Linked DNA regions of Homo sapiens: regions 1, 2 and 4 are each linked to region 3. Evidence: promoter capture Hi-C in 16 types of primary human blood cells and fetal thymus (Javierre and others, 2016). All regions are on one chromosome and are shown on one strand. The core of a region is centred on a gene start or on the middle of the fragment in contact, and the rest is flanking DNA. Distances in the headings are between cores, read along the strand shown.

Region 1 (5,842 bases), core at 133-2,632, 660 kb before region 3:
TTTTCCGTCTTACTCGAGATATCTGTTTGTTAGGTTTTTCTCCTGCTCTTGGTGTTGACGTGATCAAATTGTTATCTATATCACGTTCAATTCTACTCCGTTTTGAAGGATTTTCTCTCTCTTCCTTAAGATATAAGAGAAAAAAAAACACACTAAGCACAATCATTCTGCCTTACAGGTTACAATATTAAAATGAAAAAATACGGTATAATATACTTTCCTCTGCTTTTCATATCCAGGAAAAACAAAATGCAATTATAGGTAATATCAACACAGAAAAAATTTGACAGGGCTGTAAGAACATGAATGCAATTACAATATACAAATACAATTACAGCATCCCTACAATTCAGATCCCTTCCCCAAGGTCCATTAAGTTTTCCATGCTATCAAAATATTGAATTATAGAATGTGCTCTGAATCTTCAAAAGCTTTCCCTCATTTTTAGAAGTGTCCTTAAGAACAGAGATAATTTCCTTAAGCAACTCAGGGTAGGAGAGGGAGCCCCACTGAATGTGCTGGCAAGTCACATATAGCCCAAAAATAGAGGGTGGGGATAAAGGTGGGGCCTGGCACTGCCACACCCGCACTGCCTACCTCAATTATTCAATTACCAGAATAAATAATATAGAGTCTACCCCTTAACAAAGCTCTCTATTTGCTACCTTATATGGGGCAAGTCCCCATGACCAGTTTATACTATTCTTGCAGTACTAATGGACTAAAATAGTATACTTTCAGCCATTAGGATGATTTATGTTTTACTATTTATATATATAGTTTTCTAATTTGTAAATTTTTTTTTTTTTGAGACAGAGTTTTTCCTCTGTTGCCCAGGTTGGGGTGCAGTGGTGTGATCTTGGCTCACTGCAACCTCAACCTCCTGAGTTCAGGCGATTTTCCTGCCTCAGCCTCCCGAGTAGCTGGGATTACAGGCGCCCACCACCATGCCCAGCTAATTTTTGTATTTTTAGTAGAGACGAGGTTGGAATTACAGGCGTAAGCCACTGTGACCAGCCTCATTTGTAAATTTTTTCTAGAGTCATGCACATGAGTGATTTTTTCTTTTTCTTTTTTTTTTTTTTGAGACAGAGTCTGACTCTGTCACCCAGGCTAGAGTGCAGTGGCACGATCATGCCTCACAGCAACCTCCGCCCGCCTCCTGGGTTCAAGCGATTCTCCTGCCTGAGCCTCCCGAGTAGCTGGGATTACAGGCACGCACCACCACGCCCCGCTAATCTTTGTATTCTTAGTAGAGACAGGGCATCACCATATTGGTCAGGCTGGTCTCGAACTCCTGACCTCGTGATTCGCCTGCCTCGGCCTCCCAAAGTGCTGGGATTACAGGCATGAGCCACAGCACCTAGCCACATGAGTGATTTTCTAGTATTACTATAATACTGCCCTACATAATTCCTTACTGTTTTAATGAGACTACCTGAAATCTTTTGGTAAGGATTAGATCTTCAAATTTACATATTATATATAATTGATACATATAATCAACATTCTCATCTCTACTTTTTTGTATTTAATGTTTTTACCCTACAGCAACTAATAAAATGCACTAACATACATTTTCTACAAGTTGGATATTGCTGCATTATTTCTGAAACAAAACTTGGCATTGTAAATGGTGAAAATTACAATAGCATACAATAATGCCTCAGTGATCCACAATAAAATCCTTCCAATTCTGACCATGTACTATTCTCCTGTATTTTAAAATGAGGATCAGGGAGCCTCCTATCACAAACATGGAATCTTCATTATCAAAAAATACAGGAGCTCTCTTTATAAAGTCTTTGAAGAACAGAAATAATACAGCAGTTTCAACTACATTAAGTCCTAGCCTCCCCCTGAAATGTCCTAGTACAGCTGCTATAACATACATACATACATTCATGAAAACCTTGCATTCTGCAACAATAAAAGTAACAAAACTTATGGAAAAAATGGGTCCAGAAGGGGAGAGAGGTATGTTGGGGCAGATTAGTTCATGCCCCTGTAACTTTGTAACCATAGCACTAACAAAAACAATGATTGGAGCTGGGCTTGGTGACACATGCCTGTAATCTCAGCTACTTGGGAGACTCAGGTGGGAGCCCAGGAGTTCAAGGCTGCAGGGAGCTATGATTGCACCACTGCACCCCAGCCTGGGCAACAAAGTGAGACCCTGTCTCTAAAACAACAACGACTGGGACCACCAGAGATAACTTGGACATCCCTACGCAGGTAAGGCAGCTAAGAGGGCTGGAATGCTACCTCAGGGGATAATAAAGGGTACTAAAAACAATGAAGTAGAAACGGGCTTATGGGAAAAGTGAAGCTTTAAGCCAGCAGGGCTGCTGTTAAGTTGGGTACAAAAGGAAATGCAAACTGCCACATGTGAAGAGTCCCTGCTAGACCAGGGTGCACCTCTCTGGAGAGAGAATATCTGCTGCAGATTATCAGTTTTAATTAAAAATAAAAATAGGCCGGGCGCTGTGGCTGAAGCCTGTAATCCCAGCACTTTGGGAGGCCGAGGCAGGCGGATCACCTGAGGTTGGGAGTTCGGGACCAGCCTGACCAACATAGAGAAATTCTGTCTCTACTAAAAATACAAAATTAGCCAGGCATGGTGGTACATATCTGTAATCCCAGCTACTTGGGAGGCTGAGGCAGAAGAATCGCTTGAACCCGGGAGGTGGAGGTTGTGGTGAGCTGAGATCATGCTATTGCACTTCAGCCTAGGCAACAAGAGTGAAACTCCATCTCAAAAAATAAAAATAAAAATACAGGTGAAAGGACTTGTGCCTATGTAGCAGCTGAACTGGAGGCTTTTTACTTTCCTGATGAAGAGAATATCAAATTCAACTCTAATTATTCAGTTTGTTGTCTGGTTTAGAAGAAAATCATCTACAAACCCCTCCCCCCTACTATGTTATTGATACTACTCCCCTGTTTACCAATAGTGAGTAAGCTAAATAATATTATTGTAGGGGCACCACATATTGTTGCAGAACAGACTATAAGGCGGTCACTTTAGAACACATTCAAATACTTCAGGTTACAAAAACGGAAGAGGAAGCTATTAAGGTCAAGACTAAAATTCTGCAGTCATTGACAGTAAAATCATACTCTTCAGAATAATTCATTGAAATGCCTAATGATCCAATCCTTTTATTTCCCCCCAGTAGAGACAGGGTCTTGCTATGTTGTCCAGACTGGTCTTGAACTCCCAGCCCCAAGCAATCCTCCTGCCTCAGCCTCCCAAAGTGCTGGGATTACAGGCATGAGCCATGGTGCCCAGCCTGATGATCCAATTCTGAATGACAATTTGTCACCCAATCCTAGTCTTCTGTGAACATTCAACTGTAAAATTTGGGTATACTTTGAACATGGTAGGATTTTTTAGAAGAGGAAGACGAACTAGGAAAGACACAGTTTCTACATTACTATATAAGCTGTTTCACTAAATACAGTAATCCTACAATGTCTTCTCTAAAATCTGTATTTTTCTTTTTTCTTTTTTTCATGGAGGCAGGGTCTCTGTCGCCCATACTGGAGTGTAGTAGCACAGTCATGGCTCACTACAGCCTCAAACTCGTAAGCTCAAGCATTCTTCCTGCCTCAGCCTCCCAAGCAGCTAGGAATACAGACACATAACATCACGCCCTGTTAATGTTTTTATTTTTTGTAGAGACAGGGTCTCGCTATGTTGCCCAGGCTGGTCTCAAACTCCTAGCCTCAAGCTATCCTTCCACCTCAGTGCAAAATTTGTATTTTTCAAAGTTGTCTCTAAGATAGGTAATTAAGGGGAAAATGATGGGAAGGTGTTCTTAAATATATGAATCCCCATGTAAATACAGAGAACTGAAAAGGCAAGAAAAACCCATGGGCAACATTTACAACGAAACCAGAAGACAAGGTATCCCCCACACTCAAAAATGCAAGCAGATGAGAACAAACCAACAGGCACAATAACTAAATGTCCATATATACCAGTGCAAAGGAAAACAGAAATAAGCAACAAGTGAGGTGGCACACCTGAGAAAAGAAGCCCCAAATACCTAACAGGTAGGTAGTCACTGGAAACCACGGCAGGCCAATTTGAGAACAGCAAATGAAATAAGGGGGAGGGGAGTTGGGGAGTTGCTGTCCAATCCAATAGCATAGGGGGTCTATGGCTAGAATTGAAATGACAGGAACAGTCTGCTCCTATGAACTCTTGAAACTGACCAACTATGGCGCCCTTCTAGAACAAGTTTCCATACTTAGGAGGAAGTATTGGGAGTGGAATCAAATGTGAGTAGGGCAGGCACAGAGAGAAAAGACAGAGAAATTCCAAATAAACACATGGTAGAAATAAAAGACAAAACTCAAAAAGCATCACCAATATTTAAAAACACTACATAAAAACAAAATTTGTTCAAAGAGATACCCTGAACTACATAACTTTCTGAAAATTCAGAAAAACTAATTTCACATAAAAATGAGCAAGAAAGTATAGATATCAAATCCCACACAAAACTACTATAATGAAACACACGTGGAGCAGAACAATACCTCTATAGATAAAGAACACGTGTCAGAAAAAGATGCATAGGGAAAAGATAAAAATTATAATCTTCTATTTCAAAATCAGGCAAAATAAGAAAATATGAGGCTGGTGTGGAGGCCTGTAATTCTAGCACGTTGGGAGGTCGAGGCAGGAGCCTCACTTGAGGCCAGGAGTTTGAGATCAGCTTGGGCAACACAGCAAGATCCCATTTCTACACAAAAATTTAAAAATTAGCCAATCATGGTGGCATGTGCCTATAGTCCCTGCAACTCAAAGAGGCTGAGGCAAGAGGATCACCTGAGCACAGGAGTTTGAGACTGCAGTGAGCCATGACCATGCCACTGCAACCTGGGCAACAGAGCAAGATCCTGTCTCAAAAAAAAAAAAAAAAAAAAAAGGAAAGAAAATATGAGACATACAGCAGAGGAAGAAAAACTCAGAAACTAAGAAACAGAACAAAAAAATTCAAAAATTTTTACAAATCATTTCAGAAATAAAGACTATACTACAAGGGGCCCAAGAGAGTAAACAAAAGATTATACCTTATAAGAAAGAGGGTAAAATGAACAATTTTGTTCTTTTGAGAGCCAGGGTTTCACTAAGTTGCCCAAACTGGTCTCAAATTCCCAGGTTCAAGCAATCCTCCTGCTTCAACCTCCTGAATAGCCAGGACTATAGCTGATGGCCAGCACACCTGGCAAGGGAGAAAACTTGTTTTTTTTTTTTTGTTTGTTTGTTTTTTTTTAAAGAAATGAAGACAGACATAAAAACAAATGAAGAAAATGTAAAAGCCAGGAGTGGCATGTCAATTCAAGACACGTTTTATTATTTTTTATTTGTTTTTGAGACAGGCTAGACAGCCGTCACCCAGGCTAAAGTGCAGTCAGTGGCTCCGCCTCCTGGGTTCAAGCAATTCTGCCTCAGCCTCCCAAGTAGCTGGGATTACAGGTGCCTGCCACCACGCCCAGCTAATTTTTGTATTATTAGTAGAGACAGGGTTTCACCATGTTGGTCAGGCTGGTCTTGAACTCCTGACCTGAAGTGATCTGCCTGCCTTGGCCTCCCAAAGTGCTGGGATTACAGGCCTGAGCCACCAAGCCCCAGGTCAATCCAAGACATGTTCTAATTTAGCAACTTAAAAAAAATTATATTATCAAACGTTTGACAGAAACGCTTTTCATGTTGGAAGAAAATAGAATAACATTTAAAATAACCAAGAAAAAATGTGAGTTAAGGATTTTATATCCAGCAAAACTGATTTTCAAGCATAGAGGGCACTGTTATCAACATGCAAAAGCT
Region 2 (6,148 bases), core at 2,060-4,559, 680 kb before region 3:
GCAGTGAGCTGAGATGGTGCCACCATACTCTAGCCTGGGCGACAGAGTAGCGAGACTCAGTCTTATTTAAAAAAAAAAACAAAAAACAAACAAAAAAAGCCAGGCGCGGTGGCTCACGCCTGTAATCTCAGCACTTTGGGAGGCCGAGGTGGGCGGATCACGAGGTCAGGAGATTGAGACCGTCCTGGCTTACACGGTGAAACCCTGTCTCTACTAAAAATACAAAAAAATTAGCCGGGTGTAGTGGCAGGCGCCTGTAGTCCCAGCTACTCGGGAGGCTGAGGCAGGAGAATGGCGTGAACCTGGGAGGCGGAGCTGGCAGTGAGCCAAGATTGTGCCACTGCATTCCAGCCTGGGCGACAGAGCGAGACTCTGTCTCAAAAAAAAAGTTCCTGCAAAACCTTACTCAAACAGAAATCAACCTGAAAAGAAATTTTTTAAAGAGTACAGGCAGGGCACGGTGGCTCACATCTGTAATCTCAGCACTTTGGGAGTCTGAACTGGGTGGATTGCTTGAGCCCAGGAGTTTGAGACCAGCCTGGGCAACACAGAGAAACCCCGTCTCTACAAAACATACAAAAAAGGGCATGGTGGCACATTCCTGTAGTCCCAGCTACTGTTTGGGAGGCTGAGGTGAGAAGACGGTTTGAGCCTGGAAGATAGAGGCTATAGTGAGCAGAGATTGTGTCAATGCACTCCAGTCTGGGTGACACAGCGACACCATGCCTCCAAAAAAAAAAAAAAAAAAAAAGTCAAAGTAGGATAAAATGAAGCTTAATGTATTCATATAGGTGATTTATATGATTTATATTAAAAGTTACCAATGGGGCTGGGCATGGTGGCTCATGCCTCATGCCGGTAATCCCAGCATTTTGGGAGGCCGAGGTGGGCAGATCACTTGAGGTGAGGAGTTCAAGACCAGCCTGGCCAACAGGGTAAAACCCCATCTCTACTAAAAATACAAAAATTAGCCGGCCTCAGTAGCACGTGCCTATAATCCTAGTTATTCGGGAGGCTGAGGCAGGAGAATTTCTTGAACCTGGGAGGCAGAGATTGTGGTGAGCCAAGATAGCGCCATTGCACTCCAGCCTGGGCAACAGATTGAGACTCTGTCTCAAAAAAAAAAAAAAAAAAAAAAGTTACCAATGAAGCATAATTTTCATCAGGGAAAAATTGGCCATTATATTGTATGTACATATATTTGCATATGTTAAAAAACTTGATGTATTTACATTAATAAAAGTTTAGTCAAAACAATGGCCATTTTAGTAAAACAAAAATGTTACCTTTAAACTCAAACTCTAAACTTCAAAGGAAATGAAGCCTCCAATTTAATGTAATCAACTGTCACACCTTCTAAATTTATAGCCATTAAATAAGAACTTTCCACATAGTATGTTTTCTTTTCTTTTCTTTTTTTTTTTTTTTGGGAGACAGAGTCTCGCTCTGTTGCCCAGCCTAGAGTGCAATGGTGCGATTTCGGCTCACTGCAACCTCTCCCTCCCGGGTTCAAGCAATTCTCCCGTCTCAGCCTCCCGAGTAGCTGAGATTACAGGCACCTGCCACCACGCCCAGCTAATTTCTTTTTTTTAGTAGAGACAGGGTTTCACCATGTTGTTTAGGCTGGTCTCGAACTCTCTGACCTCAGGTGATCCACCTGCCTCAGCCTCCCAAAGTGCTGGGATTAGAGGTGTGAGCCACCATGGCTGGCCCGTATGTTTTTTCTCCTTCTTTTTTTTCTTTTTGAGACTGGCTCTCTGTCACCCAGGGTGGAGTGCAGTGGCGTGATCACAGCTCACTAGGGCCTGAAGCTCTCGGGGTTCCGGTGATCTTCCCACCTCAGCTTCCCAAGTAGCTGGGACTAGAGGTGTGTGCCACCTATTTTTGCATTTTTTGTGGAGACAAGGTCTCACTACATTGCCCAGGCTGGTCTTGAACTCCTGAGCTCAAGCCATCCACCCACCTAGGGCTCCCAAAGTGCTATCATTACAGGCATGAGCCACCACACCTGGCCTCTATTTTATTTTAATGAATTGCTCCTAATTTTGAAAGATACATTTTAGACAAAGAATCCCCATAAAATATATTTTTCCATATTTTTGAGAAATAGAGAACTATTGGTTTCATTTGTATCTTTTCCTTTTTTTAGCCAATTAATAATGAATAATTATGATGAAAAAATTAGTACCAATAACTAAACATACTAATAAGGATGGGAAAGTGACTTTAAAATTATTCTAAAGTAGTATTTTTAATATTCATCTACAATTAATTATTGAATTATTGTTCCCTACAAGCTAAAATATTAGTTTTATCCTCTATACTATGCAACTATGACCCTGAAATGGTTGTCTGATTTCTCAGCCTCCTGGCTCAAGCAATCCTCCTGCCTCAGCCTATCGAGTAGCTGGGACTATAGGTGCTCCCCACCATGCCCGGCTAATTTTTTTTTTTTGGAAGGGACAGGATCTCACACTATCTTGCCCAGGCCGGTCTCAAACTCCCAGGCTCAAGCATTCCTCTCACCTCAGCCTCCCAGTGCAGGGATTACAAGCAAGCCACTGCCCCGGCCTCAAAAGTTTTTTTTAGGCTACTTTTGTAGATGAATCTCAAGAACAATGTGCATGTTGGTTAGTATCAATTTAAGCCAGAACTTGAGAAAAAAATTAGGTATTTACTACAAAATTATAAATTTAAATGATTGGTTTCTTTCCTTCATGAAGCAAAAATAAAGCTGACTTTTCTAGAAAAGACTGTAAAGAGGAGACAGAAGCAACTGACCCTCTACTTCTCTTGTTCTTTCTTTTCTTTTTTGAGATGGAGACTCGCTTTGTCGCCCAGGCTGGAGTGCAGTGGCGCAATCTTGGCTCACTGCAACCTCCGCCTCCTGGGTTCAAGTGATTTTCCTGCCTCAGCCTCCTGAGTAGCTGGGATTACAGGCACCTGCCACCACGCCCGGCTAATTTTTTTTATTTTTTTGTGGAGATAGGGTTTTGCCATGTTGGCCAGGGTGGTCCTGAACTCCTGGCCTCAGGTGATCTGCCCATCTCCGCCTCCCAAAGTGCTGGGATTACAGGCGTGAGCCACTGCACCTGGTTCTACTTCTCTTGTTCTGTGATATGAAAATTATCCTAAGCTGTAAGATTCCCAAGAAAACTGAAAGAATGGGGACGCGGGTAAGCTTTGCTAACCGTGGCCTTCCCCATCCACCTCTTCCCCCAACTTTTCCCATAAAAGCAACCTCTACTAATAAAACAAAGCATCTTTTACAAGTAGCTCCCTACAGGGATCCTATCTGTCCTTGAGTGCTTACCACAATCTGATTTCTGGACAGCTGACCCAAAGTTTGTTGATTTTACTGATCTTCAGAAAGCCACTGACTGGCTAAAGTCTTATTGGTGAACAGAGTCAAAAATCAGATGCCCCTGCCAAGCTTTACAGAATGAGGAGTTGGACAACACAGTTACGTTTGGCTGCACTGTGGTGAAACATATGAGGTATCTTCTTTTTGTCTTCAATCAGCCACATTTGGGCTGAGTAGTTCTATTACATCTTCAAAAAACTGAGCTCCAGTTCTTGATGGAGACAGAGGAAGGTCATTGAGGAGGTGGTTCAGCTCAAGAGCTAAGTGAAAAATGTCTTTTGATTCACTCCTGCTTGTGGATAGAAGTCATCTTCGGGATGGAAGAGGGAGTGAGATGACCTAGAGTCTTGAATTGGTGGATCTGCAGGAACAGAAACTAAATACAGTGGAGACCTCTTAACTGAGTAACACCACGAGATGGATTTCCTGACAAAGTGCCAATATAGGCTAAATATAAAGATTAAACATGTGCAATAAAAGTGATCATGCACTTGTTTTTCCAGATATCAAATGCATTTGTACCATTTTATGAATACATGTTTTCTTAATAACTGATTATAAAACAATGTAAAAAAAAAACCAATTTAAGAAAAATAGACCCATTCAAACAAAAAGCCTGTAATTTTGCCTATATGAGTGCCATTTCCTCACGTTTAACAAGTCGGTTCTTTCAAATGACTTTTTATCCATATACAAACTATACTCTGTCTAGTCCACATAGTGTCAGTAGTAACATACATCAAATTTTAATTTGAGATAGATCTTTCAGGTTTTTTTTTAATCCCCTAGAGAAATGAAATTCAAATTACACCTCAAGGTACTAATTTACAATAATCTACCTGCTTACAAATTCTAAGACTTGCATTAACCAAGTTTATTCCTACATATCAACCAAAAGAAGAGTACGTATCATTAAGTCAGGCAATCTTTAAATGTGAGTAGTGGCCACCTCAAAGTTCCCTCAAACTTTGATTTTAAAAAAACTTTAAAGGCCCACAACCAGATTACTGTGGATCTAATTTAAATTTTCTACATACATTTACAAGAATTTTGATGAACATTTGATTACTTACTTCTACTTACAATTTGAATATGTAAATTTACTGTATATACTCTCATAATTATTAGACCAGGAATCAGCAAACTATGGTGGCCAAATGCAGCCTGCCACTGATTTTTGTATATAACGTTGTACTGGGACACAGTCATGCTTTTTCATTTATGTATTGTCCATGGCTACTTTCATGCTGCAATAGCACAAAAAGCAGTCATGACAGGGACCACAAAACCTAAAATATTTACAACTGGCCCTTTATAGAAAAAGGTTGCCAACCCCTGATATAGACAATTATTAAAACATATATAATACAATTAAATTATTTTGAAATGAAACAGAAATAACATGTAGAGTTAAAATTAGTTATAGGTCAACCATAACAAATATACCACAGAAAGAAAAAAAACGTAAAATAAGTCCCAAGAGGACACTCCATCTGGCTTTCAGATGAAAAATTTGATCTTTACATATAAAATATATATACATATATATGTAAATGCTATAAAACTAACATTCAAGAATAATACAGATACACGCTATGGAACTGTTCATTTAAAAATGGTTAATTTTGTCATGTAAATTTCACCTCAATAAATTTTTTAAAAAATAAGAGTATATGCAGTACTTTACAGATTTCTACCTTTAAGTGGGCCACATCATAGTACAGTGGTTAAAGATTTAAGTTACATCTTACCTAATAATGTGGTTTCTCCAATATCTCTTAGATCATCTCAGACCCTTGTGTATATTTCTTCTTTGCCAGTAGATGGAGACAACACCACTGAAAGTTTAAAAGACATCATTCCCTGTTTAAAGGGAGCTTGCTGGTCTGAAAACTGGGGGAACCCTAACCCAAAGATTTCTTCATTTATTTTTTAAAAGACAGAATGGCTATGCCAAAATAAGAAATCCAAGGGAATGTACCCAATATTAACTACGGATATCCTCAAAAATTTACTAAAAAGTAACTAAACTCTGTCTGTGATATGGTAACTAAATCGTATTAAAGTGCAATCATCTCTATAGCTTATAAGGTTCAAACTACCTGCTCTGTGCTCTCATTTAGGCTAGATCATTTATTTTTCAGTTTCAGAAAGTGTAACTCAGAATACATAAGAAAAAGAGTTGTCTGAATTCCACAGAGGTAGATGCAGTACATACATACAGTATTTTAATTAGTCATATATGCTGCTAGAAGCTTTTTATTCAAAATAAGACAACTATCCAGATCCACATGAAATAATAAGAACTTTAAAAAGAGAGTTAAAGCAGAAATGGTAGAAGCAGTAAGAAAAAAATTCAATTTTATGATCATACTGAAGAGAAACGCTCATGAAAGGGAAGAATCAAATTTACCTACTTAAGTTTCTTATTCACTACTAAGAATTACATAAACAGAACAAAAACCATCTGTAAGAAATAAATTTCAATTTCAAACCTAGAAGCTTAAGAAGTCATCTCAAAATCATTGTTTATCTATATTTTTCAATTAATAGCTTTCCTTTCCAAATTCAAAGCCTTAAAGCCATTTTTTTCAAATGCAATCACGAAAAACACCCAAAAGCAAAAAACAAAGAAAAACCCCAACAAGGTTATCGAGCTTAAAAGAGAAAACTAAGATATCACTATACTATTTACATCTGCCACAAGGACTCCTGTCCTTAAAGTCCACTAAACAAGAACAACAAATTTGATAAAAAAGGTCTTAAGAAAAATACTTGCCTTAA
Region 3 (6,035 bases), core at 2,731-5,230:
AAGGCACCATAAAGTATGACTAAACCCAAAAATATATGCAGTTAGTTTAGAGAAAGAAAAAAGGAAGCAGAGTAAAGATTAAGTCAATCCTTTCATTGACACATCAACAGCAAGAGCAAAAATAACCCAAGGAAGTTATTTGTTAAACCTTAAAAATAATAAAAATGTATTATTACATTTATACTTACATTAGATGATGAAATAACTTGTTTGTACCAGAGAGATCCTCGAAAAACTTCGATTTATCAGAACTTCAAATTTCAAAAAAGAGAAACCAGAACAAGCTACTAATTAAGTTCTTACCAGGGATGGTGTGGTATCTTCATCACTGTCTCCATCCTGACTACTTTCCACATCAACACTGAGATTCATCGCATCTGCCGTTCTCTTGGGTTGTAGCTTGTTACTTTCAGTATGAACAGCTGAGGATGAATTTTGCAGCGTGGATTCTGCCTTGGAAGATGTGTTTTTCATCTTTGGAGGTATAATCCTTCTGCAAGTTTTCTTTATTTTAGTCTTCTTACACGCCACTTCATTGTTAGAATTCTTTTCTGATAGGGATTTGGGGCACATAAGCTGGTCTAGCTGGTAATTACTGAGTGAAAAGGGGGCAAGATAGACCTTAGCTGTTTTTATTAAAACTGTAGTCTGTGCTGGTCTCAGAGACACATAAGCGATGTTTTGATTTTCTTTATATTCATTTACCTATTCAGATCAATAAAAGAAAACAGAATATTAGAACTCCAAGTCCTGTGCCTTTTCTTACAGGATCCCTAACAGATCTAATAATTCCCATTTCCCAAAGACAATATAAATCCAAATTGAGGCCAGGTGCAGTGGCTCACGCCTGTAATCCCAGCACTTTGGGAGGCCCAATCGGGCAGATCGCGAGGTCAGGAGATCGAGACCATCCTGGCTAACATAATGAAACCACCTGTCTCTACTAAAAATACAAAAATTAGCTGGGCATAGTGGCACACGCCTGTAGTCCCAGCTACTCAGGAGGCTGAGGCAGAAGAATCACTTGAACCCGGGAGACGGAGGTTGCAGTGAGCCGAGATCACACCACTGCCCTCCAGCCTGGGCAACAGAGTGAGACTTAAGCTCAAAAAAATAAATAAATCCAAATTGACACCCTTCGTAAGAAAACTTATTTTCCCCTCCAAAATCCTAGATATGTAATTCACTAACCTTAACCTCAGTAGAATTCACTTACTGGGCACATTTGCCCATAAGTTTTCCAGACCAATAATAATAATGACTAGCATTTGTGACTGGGGCAAATACCCCAACTGTCAGCTGCGGATTGTCTGGAATTATTTAAAGAGTGTGAAGCCGATCATAACTGTGGCAGAAGAAAACGCAGAAGGTTGAAGAAAGGGAATCCCAGATGTGACTCTCCCACTATTTCTCGGGTTATTGATAAGAACCTTTCGTCAAAGCTGAAGGCCTAAGGGCAGGGATCCCCCGCCTACCCCCGGTGCCAGGTGCCCTCGACCTCCTGGGCCTGTGTCCCGCATAACCCTCACAAAAACCGAGGCAGGAGCACACCTTGGAAGCACCAGTCCGTTTCTCACCTTCATCTGGGGTCGCTGTCTGGAGTCCGCCTTCTCAGCCGCCGCGCCCGACCTGGACATCTTTCGGCTTCTTAGCGGCCGGCGCCTTCCCGCCAAGATTGCGGCGGGAGGCCGGGAGGGGCGGGTCCGAGGCGGGGCGGAGCCCACTCAGATCCCCAGCGGCCGCAGCGCCAGAGCAGGAAGTTGGGGTTTTACGCGCGCTTCTTAAGAAGGCCGCCTTGGCCAGGCGCGGTGGCTCCCGCCTGTAATCCTAAGCACTTTGGGAGGCTGAGGCGGCGGATCACCTGAGGTCAGGAGTTTGAGACCAGCCTGGCCAACATGACGAAACCCCGTCTCTACTAAAATTACAAAAATTAGCCGGGCTTGGTGGCGCGTGCCTGTAATCCCAGTTACTCAGGAGGCTGAGGCAGAATTGCTTGAACCCAGGGGGCAGAGGTTGCAGTGAGCTGAGATCGCGCCATTGCACTCCAGTCTGGGCAACAAGAGTGAGACTCCGTCTCAAAAAAAAAAAAATGCTGTCTTAAAGCCCTAGACTCAAATTCTTTAGGGATGTCCTGGGGCTGAACTGACATTTTTACCTTTGACTGGTGATTTTGATTCTGGTGGTACTGGGATGTCGCTTTGAAAAACACTAACAGGCCGGGAGCGGTGGCTAACGCCTGTAATCCCAACACTTTGAGAGGCCGAGAGGAGTGGATCACTTGGGCCCAGGAGTTCCAAACCAGCCTGGGCAACATAGTGAGACCCCATCTCTATAAAAAATACAAAAATTAGCCCAGCGTGGTGTTGTACGTCTGTAGTCCCAGCTACTCAGAAGGCAGGGGTGGGAAAATGGCTTGAACCTAGAAGGATGAGGCCACAGTGAGCCGTGATTGCGCGGAACTCCAGCCTGAGCGACAGAGCAAGACCCTCTTCTATAAATAATAAAATAAGATTCTGGCTATTCTCTTTAAGGTTCCTTCTAGCCCAAAACTGTTTCCTTGGTTGCTTAGTTGGGTCCCACACTGTTCCTTGCCTGAGATTTGTCCAGTTTCATTTCTTCTCCCACTCAAGGCCCAATTGTAGAACACAGGTGAAGTAATTTGGGTTAATCATATTAATAGCAACTTCAAGGCCCCTCATGACTCAAAAATTACTGATAAAACCAAACTTTTCATGGTGTCCTGTATAAAACATACTGTTTCTGGACTTTAAGACTTTGTTCCTACTGTCCCTTGTCTCCCCCGCAGTTATAAAGTCCTTTCTACTGTGAAATGTGTCCTGACTTTCCAATTAGCCAATATTATATATATTTTTTAACACGACTCAGCTTGTAAATTGGAGCTGCTTCTGTTATTATCCTGTAAGTCCTTAAAGAGTTCTTAAATAGGCCGGGTGCGGTGGCTCACCTCTGTAATCCCAGCACTTTGGGGAGGCCGAGGTAGGTGGATCATCTGAGGTCAGGAGTTCAAGACCAGCCTGGGCAACATGGCGAAACCCTGCCTCTACTAAAAATACAAAAATTAGCCGGGAGTGGTGGCCCACGCCAACACTCAGCACTGTGGGAGGCCGGAGTGGGCGGATCACTTAAGCCTGGCCAACATGGTGAAACCTCGTCTCTACTAAAAATACAAAAATCAGCAGGGAGTGGTGGCAGGCGCCTGTAATCCCAGCTAATCAGAAGGCTGAGGCACGAGAATTGCTTAAACCCGGGAGGTGGAGACTGCAGTGAGCTGAGATCGAGCCACTGCACTCCAGCCTGGGTGACAGAAAAAGACAGTCTCAAAAGAATAATAATTACTTAGATATTTAAATACAAACATTTTCTAGCCAGGAATGTATTTTAATAGGTAGTTTCCAGAAACTGGAAAAACCTGAAAGCCTAAAAAAGTGGAGTTTTGGGATTTCAGGTGGGCAATGTCCCAGGCACCTCGGGAGTTTTTTTTTTTTTTTTTTCGGTCACTGGCCTAAATCAGCACCACCTGCCCTGTGAAACCAAATACCGCACCACAGCCCACCCTGGCCTTATGAACTAAGCTAATCGGATACTACTGGCAAGATTTTTATTCCATCAAACTCTACTTCTTCTGAGCTTTCAACAAGCCATTCAAACAGTAACTCACTGTCGCCTGAGTTTCTTATTCACTATACCGTTCTTGGCTTCAAACCAAGCTAACACGTAAAATCTTTCATTCGAACCTTCCTCACCGCAGAGTCCTAACAGCAAAGCCCAAAGGAAGCAAAATTTCCCGCCAAAAGCTGCTTCCAAATTCTGCGACGTAGAGGACATGCGGGCAGCCAATGAGCATGCGCAGAAACCGACTCGACTTCCTAGCTGTGGGCGCCCAAACGTCGTCCACCATCCCACAATCCTCTCGTCACGTATTTCCGGTTTATCTAGCTCAGCCGTAAGTAGTTTCTCTATCAGTCGCGCAGCTGTGTTCGCGGACTCAGGTGGAAGGAATTTCTTCTCTTCGTTGACGTTGCTGGTGTTCACTGTTTGGAATTAGTCAAGTTTCGGGAATCACCGTCGCTGCCATCAACATGTCGGTCCCAAGCGCTCTCATGAAGCAACCGCCCATTCAGTCTACGGCTGGGGCCGTCCCAGTTCGCAATGAGAAAGGTACGGTGCTAACACCCTCTTCCCAGTCGAATTTTAACCCCTTCCGGCCCCAGCAACCTCCAGACCTCTCCCGGACAGACCACTCCAACCCCGCCAGCTCTTGAGATCTGGCTGCCAGATTCTTCGATCTTTCCACCCCCACCCACTTGCATCCGATCTTGTTCCTGTGGCCTGCTCTCGTATTCAGCAAGCACCTCTCTTCTGTTAGCCTCCACAAATTCCTTAGACTAATGTTACATATATATAATATATATTACACATATAAAAACATTAGGAACTTAAGTATATATCAGAATATATATGTCTAATATATATATGCTAGAATATATGTATTAGTCTAATATATATTATGATTAGAATATAATATCACTAATTACATATAATTACAAGAATTTATGTATTATTAGTGTAATTACTTAGGAACTTAAGTATATTATTAATCTAATAATTAGGAACTTAAGTATATATCAGAATATGTATATAATATCAGACTAGATAGATAGATAGAGAATGCCTGTTGGCAGGGCATTGTGCGGGATACAGTCCCTCTTTTGCTGTCCATAGAAGTCTGCTTATGCTGCCCAGGCTGGACTCGAATTCCTGGGGCTCAGGCTGTCCTCCTGCCTCAGCCTCCCGAGTAGATGCCGCCGTATCTAGTCTCAACATGGCTTTTGAGAATTATCTTTGGATCCCTATACATCTAATTCATTCATCTTAACAGCTTATGAATTCCATTGTATAAAATAAACTGTAATCCACACTTTATTCCCTACTGAGAGGCAGGTGGTTGTCCCCTTGTTCAAAAAAGTGCTGCGGCCAGGCACGGTGTCTTATGCCCATAAACCCAGCACTTTGGGAGGCTGAGGCGGGCTGAACACCTGAGGTCAGGAGTTCAAGACAGCCTGGCGATCATGGCGAAACCCCGTCTCTACTAAAAATACAAAAAATTAGCCATGCATGGTGGTGGGTACCTGTAATCCCAGCTACTTGGGAATCTGAGGCAGGAGAATTGCTTGAACCCGGGAGGTGGAGGTCGCAGTGAGCAGAGATCGCACCATTGCACTCCAGCCTGGGCCACAGTGTGAGACACTCTCTCAAAAAAAAAAAAAGAAAGTTCTGCAATTGTCATTCTCTAGCCAATACTAGCTTTATTTAGTACCTGTTGCCAATTGCTCCCCAAAGTAAGTTATAAGAACATAAGAATTTGTGGAGCACAGTGGCTTACACCTGTAATCTCAGCACTTCGGGAGGCTGAGGCAGGAGGATCGCTTGAGGCCAGGAGTTCAAGACCAGCTTGGGCAACATAGCGAGACCACCCCCCACCCCCGCCAATCTCTGCAAAAATAAAAATTAGGGCCCGGCGCGGTGGCTCACGCCTGTAATCCCAGCACTTTGGGAGGCTGAGGCTGGTGGATCACCTGAGGTCAAGAGTTCGAGACCAACCTGGCCAACGTGGTGAAACCGTCTCTACTAAAAATACAAAAATTAGCCAGGTGTGGTGGCAGGCGCCTGTAATCCCAGCTACTCGGTAGGCTGAGGCAGGAGAATCACTTGAACTCAGGGGGCAGAGGTTGCAGTGAGCCGAGATCGCACCATTGCACTCCAGCCTGGGGGACAAGAGCAAGACTTCGTCTCAAAAATAATAATAATAATAATAATTAAAAATTAGCGGGATGTAGTGATGTGCTCCTGCTACTTGGGGGAAGCCAAAGCAGGAGGATCACTTATGCTCGAAAGTTCAAAGATGCAATGAGCTATGATTGTGCCATTACACTCCAACCTAAGCAACAGATCAAGACCCTGTCTGTTAAAACAAAGGCTGGGCGTGATGCCTCAGGCCTGTAATCCCAGCACTT
Region 4 (5,637 bases), core at 100-2,599, 700 kb before region 3:
ACCTGTGACCTGGCTCACAGTTGACTTTATAAGTCAGTACACACAAAGCAAAGACATTTAAAAATATTTATTTCAATATAGTTGAGCTAACAAAAACACAACAGAAAAAGATAAGCTACACTTACCAGTTCTACAAGCTTCTCCAGGAATGGAATCAATTTTAGGAGTTCATTGTCATTTTTATCCATAAACCAACTTTCTATAGGGATTCCATTAGAAAGCTAAAACAATAAATAAGTAATTAAATCCTCTTTTACTTATATTTTACCTAGTTTGGAAAAAGTTAAAAAATAAACAAAGATTTATTAAGTAAACACTGATCTAAAAGTTCCTTTGAAAAGTAATGTCACCAGACTTTTCTTTGACAACTCAATAGTGCAAGAGACAGAGGATAAGGAAATAAATTGAAGCCTATTGGTTTTTCAGTGTCATTTCTTCTCAGAGTATATAAAACTAAACAAGAAAGTTCCATTAAAATACATTTTATAAGGATCATTAATATAAATAAAATATTCCATTATTCCTTCAAGAAATAGTTACAATTAGTACAATGCTAGGTAGGCACTGTGAATGATGGGACACTGCCAATCTAAAGAGAATATAGAAAAGCCTATACTTTTTTTTCCCCTTAAATACAGTGACCATATCTCCCATTCATTATTCTATTCCCATCGAGTAGGATGATAACTTGAAATATAGTAGAAACTTAACAAATTAATGGTATTTCATTGAAGAGGAGCCTAAAAACAAGAATGCAAGCCATATTTATTTTATGGTGAATAATCTCTGGGATAAAATGTTTTAAAATTTAGGCTAAATGTTGTATATGAGATGGAGGATAATTGATATAATTTTAACTAGGAACCAAGATGAAATTCTTAAAAGACATTTTTAAATGTAAACAAATAAAAGTAAGGACCTAAATATAACTTAGTATCATATACAGCTTTTCACTTGTTTTCTTTTTATTATAGACATTTTGAAACACAGGACAAATCTAGTTTATACTCCAATCCACTTTGCATCATCCCTATTCTGGACTGGCTTATTGTGAAGCAAATCTAAGAAATCCTATCACATGGGGCTGGGTGTGGTAGCTCACAACTGTAATCCCAGCACTTTGGGAGGCTGAGACAGGTGGGATCACCTGAGGTCAGAAGTTCGAGACCAGCCTGGCCAACACAGCAAAACCCCGTCTCTACTAATAATACAAAAAAATTAGCACGGCATAGTGGCGCGCACCTGTAGTGCCAGCTACTAAGGAGGTGGAGGCAGGAGAATCACGAACCCGGGAGGTGGAGGCTGCAGTGAGCTGAGATCGTGCCACTGCACTCCAGCCTGGGCGACGAGCAAAACTCCGTCTCAAAAAAAAAAAAAGGAAAACAAAAAAAAGAAAAAAGAAATCATATCACATGGACATATTCATAATCTAAAATATACCTTGAAAGGATGACTCATCAGGCAGGCGCAGTGGCTCACACCTGTAATCCCACCACTTTGGGAGGCTGAGGCAGGCGATCACCTGAGGTCGGGAGTTCGAGACCAGCCTGACCAACATGGAGAAACCCCGTCTCTACTAAAAATACAAAATTAGCCAGGCGTGGTGGCAGACACCTGTAATCCCAGCTACTCGGGAGGTTGAGGCAGGAGAATCGCTTGAACCCAGGAGGCGGAGGTTGCAGTGAGCCAAGATCACGCCATTGCACTCCACTCCAGTTTGGGCAACAAGAGTGAAACTGCTTCTCAAAAAACAAAAACAAAAAAAAACAAAAAAACAAAAGGAAGGAAGGATGACTCATCTACATTTGTAGTTATACGTCAAAGAAATATTAACAAAGGGTACAAATATATTGACAAAATAGTCTAAGAAAATATTTCAGAACATTAAACCAAATAACCAGACCAGAAGAACATAAACTAACTATAGTACTCAAATATGTTTATGATTAAATTACTAATTACTGATTTAATAACTGATAAGAATGCTATTCAATGATGCTTATCTTATAGTTTTCTTACTCAGGTTTTTCTTCATTTATGCTGCATGTCATTTAAGTAAAAATTTTCCAAAAGGAATATACCACTTTGTCATTTCTAATTCTAAAAAAATGACACATTAAAGGGAAATTCCACCAGTGAAAATTCTCTTCTTCTTCTCCCATCATATTCTGTTTGGCAGCATGTGTCTTCATTGTATTTTTTCCAATCTGAGTTTGTTTATCAACTTTCTTCCTACCTGATATGCAAAGGCTTGTGGTGAGTTGTCAATTATTATAGTTTTTGAAAGATCTCTTCCAAGAATATTTAAGTCCTTTATATAGTTTCCTTGTACACAAACACAATGTTCACGGAAAAGCCGGTGCCTAAACATAAAAATAAAAACAAATTAAAAAAAAAAAACTTTCTAAAAAGTAGAACATATACACATATATATACACCATAGGCTTTATAGTTTAAGCCATATGATTTTCTCTCTTGAAGGAAATTCAAACACAAATATGGGTCTAAGCGTTGGGCTGCCATTTTACTATAAAAATTCTAAGCAATTACTGAAAGCTTACAACCAAATATTACTATGCCTTAAAGAACTTGAGTTTATCCCAAAATGTTATTATTAAATTATAAAGGGGGATTAAAAACTCTAAATTGTTTTTGTAATTTATTTACCCAAGAAAGCTCAGCTCAGATGCAGCATCTGGTTGTCAGCGAGGTCCTGCTTTTTAACCAATTTTCCAGATGGTTGACTGAGGAACAAGGAGGTCAAGTGACTTGCCCAAGGTCACACAGTAAGTCAGTGGTTAGCCCCGCATTGGAACCCAGGATCCTCCTGGCTCCCAGTCCTTGGCTCTAACCAGTGGACCACACAGCCTCCCTATCCCTGTACATGCCAGAATAGAAAATATAAGAAGGAATGTTTTTGTGTTGGCATTTGAAAAAATGCTTTTTAGATTTCCTTATTTTTTTTGAGAAAAGGTCCTAAGACCAAAACATTCCATCATTTCAACTTTTCCTAAACACCCCTCTTTTAGTATATGTGTATGATCATTTGAAAAAAGATTAAGTGAAATGAGGAATTCAGATTTAAGTATCAAGTATTATAAATGTAAACTGATATTTCACTCACATAGAAAAATACTACATCATTTTAGAAAGCTATTAAAGGTTTTACAATACTAAAGTGATTATTATAATCTCAATTTATACTCAAAATACTAGTCTCTGAACATTACTAATAATTGTTTCATATAATTTTTTTCTACCTTGAAGTACTCTATTCTGTATATATTAATAATTGGTAAGTTGTCTTCCTTGTGTCTTAATCACACTAACAATTTTACAAAATCTAGGACCTATTTGGACCTGTATTTTAAATTATGCAATTTCAAGAAACTGGTATTTTCTACCCACAAAATCTGTCACAGTGCTACCAAGAATAAATAAAAATCTACATATACACACACAAATAAAAACTCAACCTTAAAATTATCAGTGCCAGTTGGTATGGCAAAAAGGAAGAATTTAACGAACAGACAAAATGTATAAGCAGTTCTTTCCCCCTTATTATAAGGAATAACTTTAATAATCACAGTCAAACGATCATCTGGCCCCGGGAAAGTTTAGTCAGTTCTACTTTGAAAAAACAACAACAAAAAAGACTAAGTAAATTAATTCAAGCCTTGGTTGGGCCTAAATAAGATTCACTGTTTTATTTCTATAAACATTTAGATATGAGGAAACTGGAAAGGCAGATACAGCATGTAAATTCAAGTCACTGTTGATGCCTCTTCACCGATAGTGGCAAACTCATTGAGACAGGAGACAACTGAATCTGTACGTGGATACTACAGTTATTTTAATTAAATTACAGTAAAAGCCTTCCAATTATTCATTCAGGAATCTGAGGGTGTATAGCATGTATTTGCATTTTTAGAAAAAAACTATTTGTACCAGTCATCAAAGAGCAGATCATCCATGTGAGTACAGACTTGTGTTAGAAACTCATGAGATTTAGAGATCACAGGAATTTCTTTTTTTCTTCTTTTTTTTTTTTTGAGACGGAGTCTCCCACTGTCGCCCAGGCTGGAGTGCAATGGCAGACTCTCGGCTCACTGCAACCTCTGCCTCCCGAGTAGCTGGGATTACAGGCGCCTGCCACCATGCCCAGCTAATTTTTTTTGTATTTTTAGTAGAGACGAGGTTTCATTATGTTGGCCAGGCTGGTCTTGAACTCCTGACCTCGTGATCCGCCTGCCTTGGCCTCCCAAAGTGCTGGGATTACAGGCGTGAGCCACGGCACTCAGCCTAGATCATAGGAATTTCTTAGAGTCTACCTTGTCACCAACACAGACAATTCCCTATAGCACTCACAATCTACTCTTTGAAACGCTTTTGTTGGCCAGGCGCGGTGGCTCACGCCTGTAATCCCAGCACTTTGGGAGGCCAACGTGGGCGGATCACGAGGTCAGGAGTTCCAGACCAGCCTGACCAACATGATGAAACCCCGTCTCTATTAAAAATACAAAAATTAGCTGGGCGTGGTGATGCGCGCCTGCAATCCCAGCTTATCAGGAGGCTGAGGCAGGAGAATCGCTTGAATCTGGGAGGCCGAGTTTACAGTGAGCCAAGATCGCACCACTGCACTCCAGGCTGGGTGACAGAGCAAGACTGTTTCAAACAACAAACAAACAAACAAAAAAACAAGCTTTTGTTTCAGATTTCTCAAAATACATCTAGATAGAACAAATGGAAACCCTCAAGTGTGTAGGTTTTATAAATCTAGTTTAAAAGAGGATTGTTAATTTATAACACATTGTCATAACATGACTATCATTTGTTCCTCATTAGTAAATGAAAGCTCCAAGAGGGAAGAGCTTGTGTTGCTCACCACTGTTCCCTGGAATACTGGAGATGCTGAACAGAAATCATTATAATGAATGAAGTCATCAAAACAAAATCACTGGGTATACTTTAGTAAAGTGAGGTAAAATTAGCATAAATTACAATATACTTTTGTGAACAGAAAATACCATTTCCCATTTGTGTGACTGCAGCTTACTTATTTTGACCCTTTAGATTAAAAAACAAAAGATACCACAGCTTTATTTAGAATAAAAAACCTTCCAAAATATGAACATTAGGAAAAGCCTTTCAGTATACTTGCAACCACTGAATAATAAAGGTACTGTTAACAGCAGAAAATACACTTTAGGATTTTCCAGTAAGACAACATGGGAAAAGTATTTAAGAAAATTTATACTCAGCTGGGCTGGGTGCAGTGGCTCACGCCTGTAATGCCAGCAGTTTGGGAGGCCAAAGTGGGTGGATCACTTGAGGTCAGGAGTTCAAGACCAGCCTGGCCAATATGATGAAACCCCATCTCTACTAAAAACACTAAAAATTAGCCAGGTGTGGTGGCACACACCTGTAGTCCCAGCTACTCGAGAGGCTGAGGCAGGAGAATCTTTTAAACTCAGAAGGCAGAGATTGCAAACTGCACTCCAGCCTGGGCAACAGAGTGAGAATCCGCCTCAAAAAAAAAAAAAAAGAAAAAGAAAGAAAGAAATAGAGAAAGAGAGAGGAGAGAAAGAAAGAAAGAAAGAGAGAGAGAAAGAACGAACGAACCAACCAACCAACCCA

What was found. The method cuts DNA at HindIII sites, captures the fragments that hold promoters and counts their contacts. A CHiCAGO score of 5 or more calls a contact.
Region 1: a fragment that was not itself captured here is called in contact with the fragment with the promoter of MFAP1 in region 3 in 1 of 17 cell types (endothelial precursors); the score reaches 6.0 in endothelial precursors.
Region 2: a contact is called between a fragment that was not itself captured here and the fragment with the promoter of MFAP1 in region 3, in 1 of 17 cell types (endothelial precursors). The highest score is 6.2, in endothelial precursors.
Region 4: a contact is called between a fragment that was not itself captured here and the fragment with the promoter of MFAP1 in region 3, in 2 of 17 cell types (endothelial precursors and erythroblasts). The highest score is 7.2, in endothelial precursors.

Annotation. Positions count from the first base shown.
Region 1 is chr15:44,478,506-44,484,347 of GRCh38, reverse strand. CTDSPL2 (CTD small phosphatase like 2) reads right to left here. Exons shown (of 13, transcript NM_016396.3): 3 at 1-124. Among named protein-coding and RNA genes, the nearest start is that of CTDSPL2, 54 kb to the right of the region's middle. The HindIII fragment of the contact is 1,898 bases long and covers 434-2,331 here.
Region 2 is chr15:44,501,016-44,507,163 of GRCh38, reverse strand. All of the region lies in intron 8 of CTDSPL2 (CTD small phosphatase like 2), which reads right to left. Among named protein-coding and RNA genes, the nearest start is that of EIF3J-DT, 33 kb to the left of the region's middle. The HindIII fragment of the contact is 252 bases long and covers 3,184-3,435 here.
Region 3 is chr15:43,822,635-43,828,669 of GRCh38, reverse strand. It overlaps MFAP1 (microfibril associated protein 1), which reads left to right and starts at 3,980. Exons shown (of 9, transcript NM_005926.3): 1 at 3,980-4,179. The coding sequence starts at 4,101. It overlaps WDR76 (WD repeat domain 76), which reads right to left and starts at 1,668. Exons shown (of 13, transcript NM_024908.4): 1 at 1,578-1,668; 2 at 304-705. The coding sequence starts at 1,637. RefSeq lists a silencer at 1,640-1,699 and enhancers at 3,533-4,164, 3,917-4,176. The HindIII fragment of the contact is 28,469 bases long and covers 1-6,035 here.
Region 4 is chr15:44,515,895-44,521,531 of GRCh38, reverse strand. It overlaps CTDSPL2 (CTD small phosphatase like 2), which reads right to left. Exons shown (of 13, transcript NM_016396.3): 11 at 2,237-2,363; 12 at 126-221. Among named protein-coding and RNA genes, the nearest start is that of EIF3J-DT, 18 kb to the left of the region's middle. The HindIII fragment of the contact is 2,419 bases long and covers 140-2,558 here.